3 separate regions of the Homo sapiens genome follow, and regions 1 and 3 are each linked to region 2. Evidence: promoter capture Hi-C in 16 types of primary human blood cells and fetal thymus (Javierre and others, 2016). All regions are on one chromosome and are shown on one strand. Each heading gives the region's core, a stretch centred on a gene start or on the middle of the fragment in contact. The rest is flanking DNA. Distances are from core to core; before and after follow the strand shown. Region 1 overlaps ZGRF1 (zinc finger GRF-type containing 1). Region 2 holds the start of MIR302CHG (miR-302/367 cluster host gene). Region 3 overlaps ZGRF1 (zinc finger GRF-type containing 1).

Evidence for each region. Contacts are between HindIII fragments. The CHiCAGO score rates a contact against its expected background, and 5 or more counts as called.
Region 1: a fragment that was not itself captured here is called in contact with the fragment with the promoter of MIR302CHG in region 2 in 1 of 17 cell types (neutrophils); the score reaches 6.3 in neutrophils.
Region 3: a fragment that was not itself captured here is called in contact with the fragment with the promoter of MIR302CHG in region 2 in 1 of 17 cell types (neutrophils); the score reaches 5.0 in neutrophils.

What each region holds. Positions count from the first base shown.
Region 1 is chr4:112,611,346-112,615,452 of GRCh38, reverse strand. It overlaps ZGRF1 (zinc finger GRF-type containing 1), which reads left to right. Exons shown (of 28, transcript NM_018392.5): 7 at 2,865-2,929. Among named protein-coding and RNA genes, the nearest start is that of ZGRF1, 24 kb to the left of the region's middle. The HindIII fragment of the contact is 5,419 bases long and covers 1-4,107 here.
Region 2 is chr4:112,648,677-112,653,463 of GRCh38, reverse strand. MIR302CHG (miR-302/367 cluster host gene) reads left to right here and starts at 3,413. Exons shown (of 3, transcript NR_146092.1): 1 at 3,413-3,472. LARP7 (La ribonucleoprotein 7, transcriptional regulator) reads right to left here. Exons shown (of 13, transcript NM_016648.4): 9 at 3,778-3,929; 10 at 2,882-3,003; 11 at 228-387. RefSeq lists an enhancer at 3,871-4,593. The HindIII fragment of the contact is 6,288 bases long and covers 1-4,787 here.
Region 3 is chr4:112,591,947-112,596,262 of GRCh38, reverse strand. All of the region lies in intron 10 of ZGRF1 (zinc finger GRF-type containing 1), which reads left to right. Among named protein-coding and RNA genes, the nearest start is that of ZGRF1, 43 kb to the left of the region's middle. The HindIII fragment of the contact is 4,339 bases long and covers 629-4,316 here.

The DNA of each region.
Region 1 (4,107 bases), core at 1,290-3,789, 37 kb after region 2:
CAGGAGTTCAAGATTAGCCTGGCCAACATGGTGAAACCCCATCTCTAATATATAAAAATTAGTCGGGTGTGGTGGTGGGGACCTGTAATCTAAGCTACTGGGGAGGCTGAGGCAGGAAAATAGCTTGAACCCGTGAGGCAGAAGTTGCAGTGAGTAGAGATTGTGTCACTGCACTTTAGCCTGGGTGACAGAGCAAGACTCCATCTTAAAAAAAAAAATTAGTTTTGGGAAACCAGCTGGTTTCTGTCATCAAGTTGGAAAGAAAATTAAAGTTGATTCTGATTATTTGCAGTAGTTCTGTGAAGTCACTGCAAACACATAACTAGTAATAGTAAACCTTGCTCCTATGGGAAATACAGGGTTAGGTTCCTGCAAGCCTGTGGTCAGAACATTTTCATTAATTTATGAATACGTAACCTTGTTTTATGTATGTTTCTGCTTAAAGAACCTTATTTAATATATATTGTTAATTCATTAACATTAAACTCACTCATAGCCAACAGCAATATAACTCTTACCTATAAAAAATGTACCTAACATATGCACTTTCCTCATAAGGAATATCACAGTCTTCTTGCCCTTGGGAACACTAGATAGCACTATTCTTAGGGGACTTTTTTTTTTTTGACACAGAGTCTCGCTCTGTTGCCCAGGCTGGAGTGCAGTGGCGCGATCTTGGCTCACTGCAACCTCCGCCTCCTGGGTTTAAGCAATTCTCCTACTTCAGCCTCCCAAATAGCTGGGACTACAGGCGTGTGCCACCACACCCAACTAATTTTTGTTTTTTTTTATTAGAGACGGGGTTTCGCTATGTTGGTCAGGCTGGTTTGAACTGACCTCAGGTGATCTGCCCACCTCGGCCTCCCGAAGTGCTGGGATTATAGGCGTGAGCCACTGTACCTGGCCCCTTTGGGGACATTTTAAGTAGTGAAATTACCAATAAATAGCACAAAAATGAAAAATGTGGCACTAAGCAACCATGAAAAAGATAATTGTTTACAACATAAGCTAAAACAAGAAGCCAGAGTGTTACCTTGAGAACATGCGCTTCAGGCAATTCGTTTTTTGCTGTTCTATGTATGTCTGCAAATGACCATGAAAGTATAGCAAATACTGATTTGGGGTTACAAATAAACTTTAGGGAGTAGGCAGAATCCATGAGTAATGATCGACTAAATTTGCTTTTTTGATACAAATATATTTCTCTAAAAAGGATTAAGTTGGTTGCTTGAGACAGTTTGAGAAGATTGAATCACTAGGGTATAACATACTTTTATGAAGTTTAAAGCAAAATTAGAGAAGAAGAAATTTTGCCACCAATTTAGAATGTGCGAAAGTGTTAAAACTCTAAATTTTTTGTGAGATAATTGTATATAGCTTAGAAATGTTAATTTAGAATGTTTTTCTGGAGCAAAGGCAGTAAAGGAAAACAATATCAATTTTCATCTGGTGTTTTAAAAAAACTTGTTAGAAATGTCAAGTTCCAAAATTATTTTTTATTTTATTCTGAATTTTAGCAGGAAAACAATGAAATCATAAATAGCAATTGCCTAAAAATGAAGTTTACACTAGTTATAGCTATGATTTTTTACCGTAATTATCACTTTAAAATTAGTCTTTTTGTGATTTTAGAAGAGGAGATTATTGAATATGTACTTTTTTTTAAGAAAAAAAATTTCTATTTTTAAATGGATACCTGATAAGGTGGCAAAACTAGCCACCCTGCACTCCTTTGCATTCTGCAGGCTTGCCAACTTTTCTGCTGTTTTGTATTCAGCCTTTTACCCGAACACTTTTACCCTTGTCATAGCTGAGTTTTTTCTTCATCTCAACTTAAATGTTACTTCCCATGAGAAACTTTTCCTAATTCCTGTATCAAAAATCGTTCTGTATCATATCACTGTTCAATGAGATACCCTTTTGTATCATAATCTGAATTTATCTGGTTTAGTTATTTGTTTGTCTTTTGTGTCTCTCTTTTTTCAAGGAATTTTTTTTTGTCTTGTTCACTGCTATTTCCCTAGTGCCTGGCACACTGCACTTGGAAAATAATTGTTGAGTGAATTTTTTAGAATATAGAATTTTTTTCTTAAGCCATAGTAAAAATGGATTTAAGATAGACTAGAAATAGCATGAAGTGCTGTTTTTTTTTCTTTTGTTTGAGACATGGTCTCACTCTCACCCAGGCTGGAGTGCAGTGGTGCGATCTTAGCTCACTGCAACCTCCACCTCCCGAGTTCAAGTGATTCTCCTGCCTCAGCTTCCTGAGTAGCTGGGATTATAGTTGTGCACCACCATGTCTGGTTAATTTTTGTATTTTTAGTAGAGACAAGGTCTCAGCATGTTGGCCAGGCTGGTCTTGAAATCCTGGCCTCAAGTGATCTGCCTGCCTTGGCCTCCTAAAGTGCTGGGATTACAGGCATGAGCCACCATGCCCGACTCTGTTTTTCTTTTCTGTTTGTACATAGCAACAGTATACTGGGAGTCTTGACTTTCTTTCCTAACAGTTGTCCGGTACTTCATTTTTAGCATTTTTAGTATAGGTTATTAACTATTGGGTTAGTATTTATTTTTTAATTAGTGTAAAAAAGGAGTACAAGGAAACATTCCTACTATTGACTTAGAAAGTAAACAAAAAGGCTTTCATTCTAAATATTTTAAAATTTTTATCATAAAAATGTTTTAATCTAAACAGAGAACAGTACAGTGAATCCTCAAGTGCTACATTCCAGATTGAACAATTACCAAGATTGTCTGATCTTAAAATTTAAGTTATATTCCTTGTTTTGGTTTTAGGAATAAGTTAAATTTTAGAGTACTGCTATATATAACAATGATATGATTATTTCTTTTCTCCATTACAGTGAGGAAACCATTTATTACAGTAGTTTCACCAAAGTCTCCTCATCTGCACAAGGATTCTCAACAGGTACAGGTTTTTTTTCTAAGAGTATGTTTTTTTTATTTTGATAAGAATGTTCTATAATTTGTAATAGAATTATAGTAATACAGTCCCAAGCTATCTTGGTTCATGACTCCTGCTGTATCTCAGTAATTTTTCATTGCCTTCCTCAGCCAAAAGAAATGCCTAACAGTTTCATTTATTATGTAGTTAATAGTATTAAGCAACTCAAGTATTTCCTAGTAACTTTGTAAGCATTTTGTTTGTTAAAAAACACAGTTACATGGCTGGACGTGGAGGCTCACGCCTGTAATCCCAGCACTTTGGGAGGCTGAGGCAGGCAGATCACTTGAGGTCAGGAATTCGAGACCAGCCTGGCTGATGTGGTGAAACCCCATCTCTACTAAAAACACAAAAATTAGCCAGGCATGGTGGCATGCACCTGTAATCTCAGCTACTTGGGAGGCTGAGGCAGGAGAATCACTTGAACCCAGGAGGCGGAGGTTGCAGTGAGCCGAGATCATGCCATTGCACTCCAGCCTGGGCAACAAGAGTGAGACTCCATCTCAAAAAAAAAAAACAAAACCCCACAGTTACTAATGGAATGTGTACCTCTGTTGGGCACTATACAACTTCTCAAACCTTGGAATAGATTAGGTAACACCACCTTATTTCTTGTTACACGTTGATTTTCTCATGATAATTGCTTTTTATCACAGCAGTTTCTCAGAACCCAGCTTCACAAAGGTGCAATGTCATTGAAAGAAATGTAGCAAGATCTGATGTAGAAACAGACCTGGAGTTAGTAGTTCATTAGGTGTCAGACAGATGTCAGGTGACACTGTTACCCTACATATAAAACACCTTATGGAGCTCCTGTGAGTTCATTGTGCCACCTCAGGGTACCTTGTTGCACAGTTTGGGAACCATGGTAGTTATATAAAAAATAATAGTTCTAATTAGGATGAATTGAAATTCTAGGATAAATCATCTAGATGAGTGTTTCTCACTCAATGGGGATGCTGTTAGCACTTTTGGAGGGTCAGTTCTTTCATTATATGGCACTGGTCTTTCTACAGACATGTTTGGAACAAAAGAAAGTAGAATGTTTCACTTGCCTCCATTTTATTTTTGTTTTTATTTATTTTGAGATGGAGTCTCTCTCTTTCGCCCAGGCTGGAGTGCAGTGGCACGATCTTGGCTCA
Region 2 (4,787 bases), core at 2,164-4,663:
GTAACACACGCCTGTAATCCCAGCTACTCTGGAGGCTGAGGCAGGAGAATTGCTTGAAACTGGGAGGTGGAGGATGCGGTGAGCTGAGATCACACCACTGTACTCCAGCCTGAGCGACAGAGCAAGACCAAAAAAAAAAAACTAGTTTCATTAGCCAAACTCAGAAAATATATTACTCACAATAAGGATGATAACAAAAAAAAAAGGAAACGTCTATGAAGTTTTACCAGAAAGGATCTCGAGTTTCCAGCAGTGTTTCTTGTTAATTTCTGTATAGGCATTTATTACTGCTTGAGCATCCTCAGGAGTTTTAAATCTAGCATGGCATTCTGTATCCCCTTCTAGCAAATCAACATAAAGAACTTCTGAGATTGCTGCCAAAGTATCCTGCATTAGAGTTAAGTAGAAAGACAAATAAAATTTAAAAAGTTTCACAATAATTCTAAAACTATTCCAATGGTTATGCCAGAATATATTATGTAAATAAAGCATTTTGCAGTCTAATGAGGAGCAAATATCCTGTATCAAATATTTCCTGTAAAGCATGTTCTTAAAAATAGATTTGAATAATATCAACTCTAGTAATTTATTTTCATTTATTTTCTTGAAATCACATCCTTAAAATCTGCACTAGAATGGGAATATTCTATAAGGACAACAGATTTATAGAGCAGAAAGCAGAAATAGTGTCCCCCAACCCCCAAATCAGGAAGCGTTCACATCTGGGAGTAGTATAAGGAATAAAATTAAAAAAAAAAAAAAGGATTAAGGGAGGTTTGTTTTTACTCACCTGTAGAAAATCACTATGACTTTAAAATATGTGTACAAATCATTCCACTTTTAATAACAACTCATGAAAAACAGTTTAACCAAACCTAAAATACTAGATTTCCACATTGTTCAAGAGCTCTTACTTTCTGAAAAAAATACCTAAGTAACCTCTTCTAAACAAGTTGTGGTCACCCAGCAAGGAAAAGTTTTACCTACACTGCCTGCTGTGAGGGCAAATTAACCAGATTCCTGCATTCTTAATCAACTTTTTTTTTCACAGCAGGTTTTACAGAGTATACAATGCATTTATGCAGGAATGTTACACTAATTCCTAATTCATCAACTTCCATTCATAAAGCTAAAGAAGTAACTGGAGATTGCTAAATGGGGGGGGGGGGGAAATCTTATTTATCTTGCCTCCCTTTCGTTTTGACCTAAAATTTCAGACATAACTAATTTACATTACTTTCAGATGTTGAATTTTTAGATGTTTGAATTACGGAAAGAACTGAGCAATACCTGGAAGTATTATTTCATCATAGAATAAGAAAAGTTTATCAGTTAATAATAAAAAATATATAATAAAATCTGTGAGTTTCTAGAAGCCAGGGACTAGATCTTAACTCATCCCAACACTCAGCAACTATCACAAAACAGGCATTTAGTAACTGTTTGCCAAATTAAAAAAAAAAAAACTGCAGAGACTTACACTTGCTAGTCCTTCCCACTTCTTTACCTAGTTAATTAGTACCAAATTTAGATATAAAGCAAGTAAAAAACTCAGTATTGTTGAAATTTGAATGCATTCAGTAGTAGTAATGAGTTTTATAACTGACTTTTGAGCATATTCAATTACTACAACTCAAAAGATATATACTAAATATCCATTATAATGTCAGGCTAATCTCTTGATTTAAAACCCTTAGAATTTAAAACCCATAGAATGACAAATTAGCCTGGTAATCACATGGGCAAGTCACAGACAGTTGTAACCAACACAGCTCAGTTTTTGTTTCAGCAAAATGTAAGTAACTACTAACTGGATTAATGCAGGGATTGATTTTATGATTTTGATGATCATAAATGATGAATTTGTAATTGATAAAGTTACCCTTTAAATAACAGAAGTTATTTAATGAGTTGATTAGAAATAACTCTGAGCAATTTTTGTATTAAATGTTTTGCAATCTGATTAATCAGAGCAGTATTTACATCCCTCAATTTTCAGCTGTCTCCTGAAATGCAAGCTGGTAATAGCAATTTGGATTTGGCCAAATCCTTCACCAACATTGCAAAGAGGATCAAAATTTGTTTCTTAGTGACAGCTATAGGATTGTAGGACAGTATTTCAGATAAGGAGGGCTTACAGATAAACAAACCACCACCTCAATGGTATTCAAGTTAAAACCTGTGACTGATGAGTCTACGTAAAACCAAAACAACATACTAAGTGATGATGAATGTCAGTATAAGAAAATACTTAAAATATGTGGTATGTTACAGAGCATTTCACACTTTTTAAAAAGAAAAGGATTCACTTAAATGGGTGACAGGCAGGGTAAGGGTAAATAAGATATGGTACTCTCACCTAAAAGTATATAATTTCCCTAATAGAAAGTATTGCTACCAATGTGGTATAAAAGGCTACAGAAGATAGACTGTATAAAGCGAAAAAATTATAAACCTGTATGTACAGCAATTTGTAGCGTAAATTATATAGAAGTATGGGTTTTTTGGCACATGCGTGAAAAATTTTAAGAGGTTTTCAAAAATATTTTACTTTTCTATAATTAAAATTTTAAAGATAATCAGCACATAGGTAATACAAAAAAAATCAGTGCCAATAAAAATAAGCAAAAGTTACAATTTTCCTATAGAGAAGGATGTTTAAACTGTGCTTACATATAGATTTAGTGAGGAATTTCAGCCTCTAGATTTTGCTTCAAAATTAAACCTAAGAGTTACCATGGAATTAAAACTGTACAGTAGTTTACCATAGGGAAACAAATTCTAACTTGATTTGTTTTATCTTCCATATTCAAAACATTTTCACACAGGGAAATAATAAGAGAAGAAAGGAACAAATACCCTAGGGGCTCAAAATCATTACCCGGACTTGTTTCCTGCCAGGTAGAGGCTCTGTGCTAATGATCTTCACAATCACTCCACTCACGAACTGTGGTCCTGTTGCATTAACTTTCTCCTGGGTGCGACACTCTTCCCTGTTGGCTGCTGATTAGAAAAGGAAAAAGACCAGGACTAAATCTCTTACACTTAACAACAATTTAATACTTAGGAGGACTACCTTAGAATAATTCCTGAGGCAGATTTAAATAATTTAAAACGTATTTAATTTTAAAGTAAACAATTAAAGGTTATATGTCATACTGCTTATTTCAAAATACCATGAATAAAACTCAGAAAGTTTTATTATTCTACATGCAAATTGTTACTGCTAGAAGAGCATTCGTAAAGCCTTTAAATTTGCCCCTTCTCCCTGAACAAAGGAACAGTAAATTTTTACTCAATAAAGTTAAAAAAAAGTTAAAGGATACTGTGTTTTAAATACATTATTATTCAAACGTGAACATTTATTTTTACAAGAAATGAGAATTTAAAATGTATCCTAATTTTGAATTCATAGGAATTCTGCTTTAACTTGTTCCTGCTTGTGGTGCATACTACAGAATGAAATTAACAGGTGAGAAACTACAATCTTCATTCCTACAAACTTGCTCAGTCTGCAAACTCTGCACTCATGTGCTTGATGAAAACTGTAGAGAAAACTCAGGTTATTTAAAAAATTGTTTTAAATGAGCCTTTTAAATATTCTTATATCAAGAGTAAGTAACACATCTGGATAACTTAACAAATCAAGAATTGTTCTAATAATGAAATAGAATAATCAAGTTTTTTAAAATTAAAATTTATCTTATAACAACTCAGAGATAGCATTTACATATATAAGTACATTATAATGTTGTCAAAACTATCAGTGATCTTTACTTTTTTCATTTTTCATTCCAGTGTTTTGAGGTACTCCACTGTCTGTTTCCATTTCTGACTCTGATTTTATTTGGGATATTGTTTTTTTTAAAGAAGCCATGCTAGCTTTTTGTAGCGCTAAATACTCTTTTTTCAAATCCATCCATTCGCTCCTACAAGGAAAGAAATGGTGATAACAGATGACTAAATATAAAAAGTAAATAGGGAAATATCTAAATATATACATTCACAATGACTTGGAGCAACTCCTCCACCAACTTTCCTGTTTCTTTAAACACATATTCAAAATATTTCCTAGGTTCTAAAGACATTTAGCAAAATAAGCTAAGGGAGTTCCTCTTCCCCCAATATTCAGATTAAATGTTTTAAGATTGCCAATTAAATTTTTGAGTGTCTGAAGTATTTTAATTTATAAAAGTAAAATTTTAGCATTAATTCCTTAACTAGTAACATTTACTAAATCAGTCATCTCTGTGGGAAAAGGGCGAGATTAAAGATTTGTTAAACTGCTTCCAATTTGAGAGATAACATTCCTTAGTATTTACTTGAATCAAAAAGAATTTCTAAGTAGAACAAAACACCCCGTGGAAGCAATCTATTTATTTACATACATTTAACATGTAGATGCTTCTTCAAACAGAGTTCCTCCAGATAGAAACACAATGCCTTTCTCGGCTCAGTGGGAGCACTCATTGTTACCCTAATCTATGCCATCAAACAAGCAGATAGGAGATTTTCTTTTTCTTTTTCTTTTTTTTTTTTAAGAGGAAGATATCTTGTGGTAATGGTTTTAGCTGTTAACATTGACATCTGTATACTTCAAAAAAAAAAAAAAGGATCCAGACCCACCCAGGATCATACATTCCCTGAGAGCTGATACATTAAAATAACAAAAGGCCCTTGTAATGATTCTCTGAGATAAAAAGGCAAAAGGAATTCAAGAGTTAAGAATAGTATAAATAGAAGTGGCTGAAGTCCCTGCCTTTTACCCTTCTGGAGGAGAACACGAA
Region 3 (4,316 bases), core at 1,549-4,048, 57 kb after region 2:
CAAGTCTATACTATTCCCCATCTTCTTAATATTGTATTGTAATTCAGGATTGCCATTGCTTCTTAGTTTCATCAAAGATGGAGTTTCTGTTTCTCATCCTCTGTATATTTTGAGAGGAGAACAAAATTTAGAGGTATTCCATATTGAAAAAGAAACTTATGTCCATTATTTTTATTTCTAGTTATTGTTATCTACATCAGTTATGATTATATGCTTTATATTCTGAGTTTACAAAAATGTTCTAAAACAAAATGATTAGATCTACAAACAGATAAGTGCTTTTTTGAATAAGCGTGACATTGCTTGCATGTAGCAATCTCTGGACTTACAAGAAATTCTGTATTTTTATCAAATTCTGAGATACTACTACTGTAAAAAGCACCAGTTTGTTATACAGCACTAAGAAAGAAGAGTAGTCATTTAGACATTACACAATGTTTTTTATCCTAGACTTTAAAAACATTATAAAATATTTATTGTGGTGAAAACCATATATCATAAAATTTACTATTTCAACCAGTTCAGTAGTGTTAAGTATACTTACGTTGTTTTGAAATGGATCTCCAGAATTTTTTAATCTTCACTTAGACTTCTAATGTTATATTTATTGAAAGAATGCTTTTAAGCTTATTTGGGCATACATATATTTTGATATATATATAAATACACACACACACACACATATATACACACAAACATATATATTTATGTTTTGTAGAGACTGGCTCTCACTATGTTGCCCAGGCTGGTCTCCTATCCTCAAGCGATCCTTTTGCCTTCGCCTTCCAAAGTGCAGGGTTTATAGACGTGAGCCACTATGCTGTGTTGGGCACAGTTTTTAATTGTATATTACACTGCTTTGTTCTCTTGCCTTTCTTTGAACATAATAATTTTTTGTTCAGGGCTAAATCATAGTATAATCTTTTGAAGACATTTAAACAGCAAAATTACTTAGAACGTGTTTGATATTAGCAATGCACAGACCAATTCATATTTAAGTGATTATTAAGATGAACAGCATGACTAATTTGCATACATTTGCACATGTACAGGCAATGACAACTATGTCACAACTGTTGCCTGTGCTATAGAGATGTAAAAATGTCATCACTTTTAAAGTGTTTCCCTATTTCAAAGACATTAAAATGTAAAAAAATGTGAGTCATAAGAATTTTATATTTTTAGTAGAGATGGGGTTTCACCATGTTGGCCAGGCTGGTCTCAAACTCCTGACCTCAGGTGATCTGCCTGCCTCAGCCTCCCAAAGTGCTAGGGATTACAGGCGTGAGCCACCGCACCTGGCCTGTGGAGTAATTTTTGTTAAAATCTAACAAAACATAGATGACTGCTTTCTTTGTCATTTAAAGATGTTTTGATCTTTGAAATATGACAGGAAACGAAACATGCATAATTATAAAGGAAGAAATAGAATTAAAATAACCAATTAAAACTTGAAAGTTTAGAAGGGATTTTAGAAAGGACCTGAAGACAAGATAAACTTGAAAAATTAGGCCAGGCGTGGTGGCTCACACCTGTAATCCCAGCACTTTGGGGGGCTGAGGTGGGCAGATCATTTGAGGTCAGGAGTTCGAGACCAGCCAGGCCAACATGGTAAAACCCCATCTCTACCAAAAATACAAAAATTAGCTGGGCGTGGTGGCATGTGCCTGTAATCCCAGCTACTTGGGAGACTGAGGCAGGAGAATCGCTTGAACCTGGGAGGTGGAGGTTGCTGTGAGCTAAGATCATGCCACTGCACTCTAGCCTGGGTGACAGAGCGAGTGTCTGTCTCAAAGAAAAAAAAAAAAAACCAAACCGAAAACAAAAAACTTAAAAAATTAATAGCTTTCCTAACCAATTAGAAAATATAGTAGAAAAAGAGTCCCAACAGTAGTAACAAATGATATTTGTTAGAAATGTGCAGGACATGTGTAAAACAGACTATGAAATTTACTGTTGAATATAAAATTTGTGAATAAATAAGAATTCAAAAGTACCTATTGAATACCTTCTGTGGGTCAGAAGACTTGTAAGACTTGGGTATAGATTGATGGACAAACCAGATATGACCTTAAAGGTCAGCAGGGGGAGGGAGATGTTAATCAGGAGAATAAACAAACAAACAAATAAATTGAGATAATTGCTATGTAGGAAATCTGTGAAAGTACTCTCAAATTATAAGGGAATCTACTTTAGAATGGGTGATTAGGCTGGGGACGGTGGCTCACACCTGTAATCTTAGCACTAAGGGAGGCCAAAGCGGGAGGATTGCTTGAGCCCAGGAGTTCAAGTGAGAACAGCCTGGGCAACAGGGAATCCCCATCTCTAAAAATTAGCCAGGTGTGGTGTCACACAACTGTAGTGCCAGCTACTCAGGAGGCGGGGGTGGGACGATCAATTGATCCTGGGAGGTTAAGGCTGTAGTGAGCTGTGAGCATTCCAGCCTGAGCAACAGAGCAAGACCTGTCTTAAAATAAATAGATAAATAAATAATAAAATGGGTGATAAAGGAGGGCTTCTCCAGCATTGGCAACAGTGAGGGACTGAACATACCATGCAAAGAAACAGCATGTGTAAATTCCCTGAGATTGAAAAGTTGAGTGAGTTTGAGGAAGTGAAAGAAGGCCAAGGTATCTGGATTGTGGTGAATGAAACAGAAAATGGTAATTAATGAGGCTGGACAGGTCAGCTGGGCCAGACATAGACATAGAGTCTTCAGGCCAGGTTCAGAATAAAATCAAAACTTTGATTTTTATTGTGCGTGCCACTGGGAAATCACTGAAGGATGCAGCATGAAGTGACATGATTCAATTTATATTTTTAAAGTTTTTGCTGGCTGCTATATAGAAGATGGCTTGGATGGACACAGTGGTAGAAGCGGAGAAACCAGTTAAGAGAATGCTTTGATGATAGTGAATTGAAGTAGGGATTGTGGCAGTGAAAGTATAGTGGAGTTGGTGGGTTTAAGACAAATCTTGGAGGTAGAATCATGGATGTTACTGGATTAAATGTAAGGAGTAGGGTGAAAGAAAGGGAGAAGAAAAACAACTGGGCAGACTGAGGCAATTTTCATTGAGTAAAGCAAGATGGGGAAGTGTATTAGTTTGCTAGGGTTGCCATAACAAAATACCACAGGCTAGATGGCTTAAACAACAGAAATTAATTTTCTCACAGTCTGAAAGCTAGAAGTCCAAGATCAAGGTTCCAGCCAATTCTGTTTCTGATGAGCCCCTCTTCATGGCTTACAGATAGCTGCCTTCTCCCTATGTCCTTACATGTCCTTTTCTTGTGTGCATTTGAAGAGAGAGAATTCTCTGTTGTCTCTCTTTGTAAGGTAACTAATTCAGTTGGGTAAGGGCCCCACTCTTATGACCTCATTTAACCCTAGTTATCTCCTAAAGGCTGTGTCTTCAAATATAATCACATTGGAGGTTAAGGCTTCAACATATACATTTTTTGTGGGTACATAATTCTCTCCATAGCAGGGAGGAGCAGGTTTGGTGAATACATAAGAATAAATAAATAATACCTGTGAAACCATCAAATAGAGATGCTAAGTAAGAAGTTGAGTACATGAGTCTGATTTAGAGGAGATATTTGTGGAGTCATTTGCACAAAGAAAAGTTTAAAGCAGTAAGAGTGGATGGGTTCATTTAAAGAGAGCATAGAGAAGAGAATGGGTTATATTTGTATCAAGAATTGGGATAGAGAGAGTTATGTGAATTATTATTGAGACATCCAATAAAATGAGGACAGAAATATGTCCATTTCATTTAGCAACTTGGAGGTCAGTGGTGACCTTGGCAAGAGCAATTTCAATGAAATAGGGTAAGAATTAGTTTAGAGTCATTTAAAAAGTGAATGAGGCCTGGCGTGGTGGCTGACACCTGTAATCTTAGCACTTTGGGAGGCCGAGTCAGGTGGATCACCTGAGGTCAGAAGTTTGACACCAGCCTGGCCAACATGGTGAAACCCCGTCTCTACTAAAAGCACAAAAATTAGCCTGGGGTGGTGGCACACGCCTGTAGTCCCAGCTACTCAGGAGCCTGAGGCACGAGAATTGCTTGTACTTGGGAGTTAGAGGTTGCAGTGAGCTGAGATCACGCCACTGCACTCCAGCCTGGGCAACACAGTGAGACTTGATCTCAAAAAAAAAAAAAAAAAAAGAATGAATGAGAGGTAAGAAAATGGAGACCATGTATGTAGCAAACTCCTTAAAATGAGTGTATTTATTTAATCAGTCACTCATTTGACAAATATTTCTTGAGCAATGCCTGTTATGTTACACTGTTCTTGGTCTAGAGATAGGCTTGTGA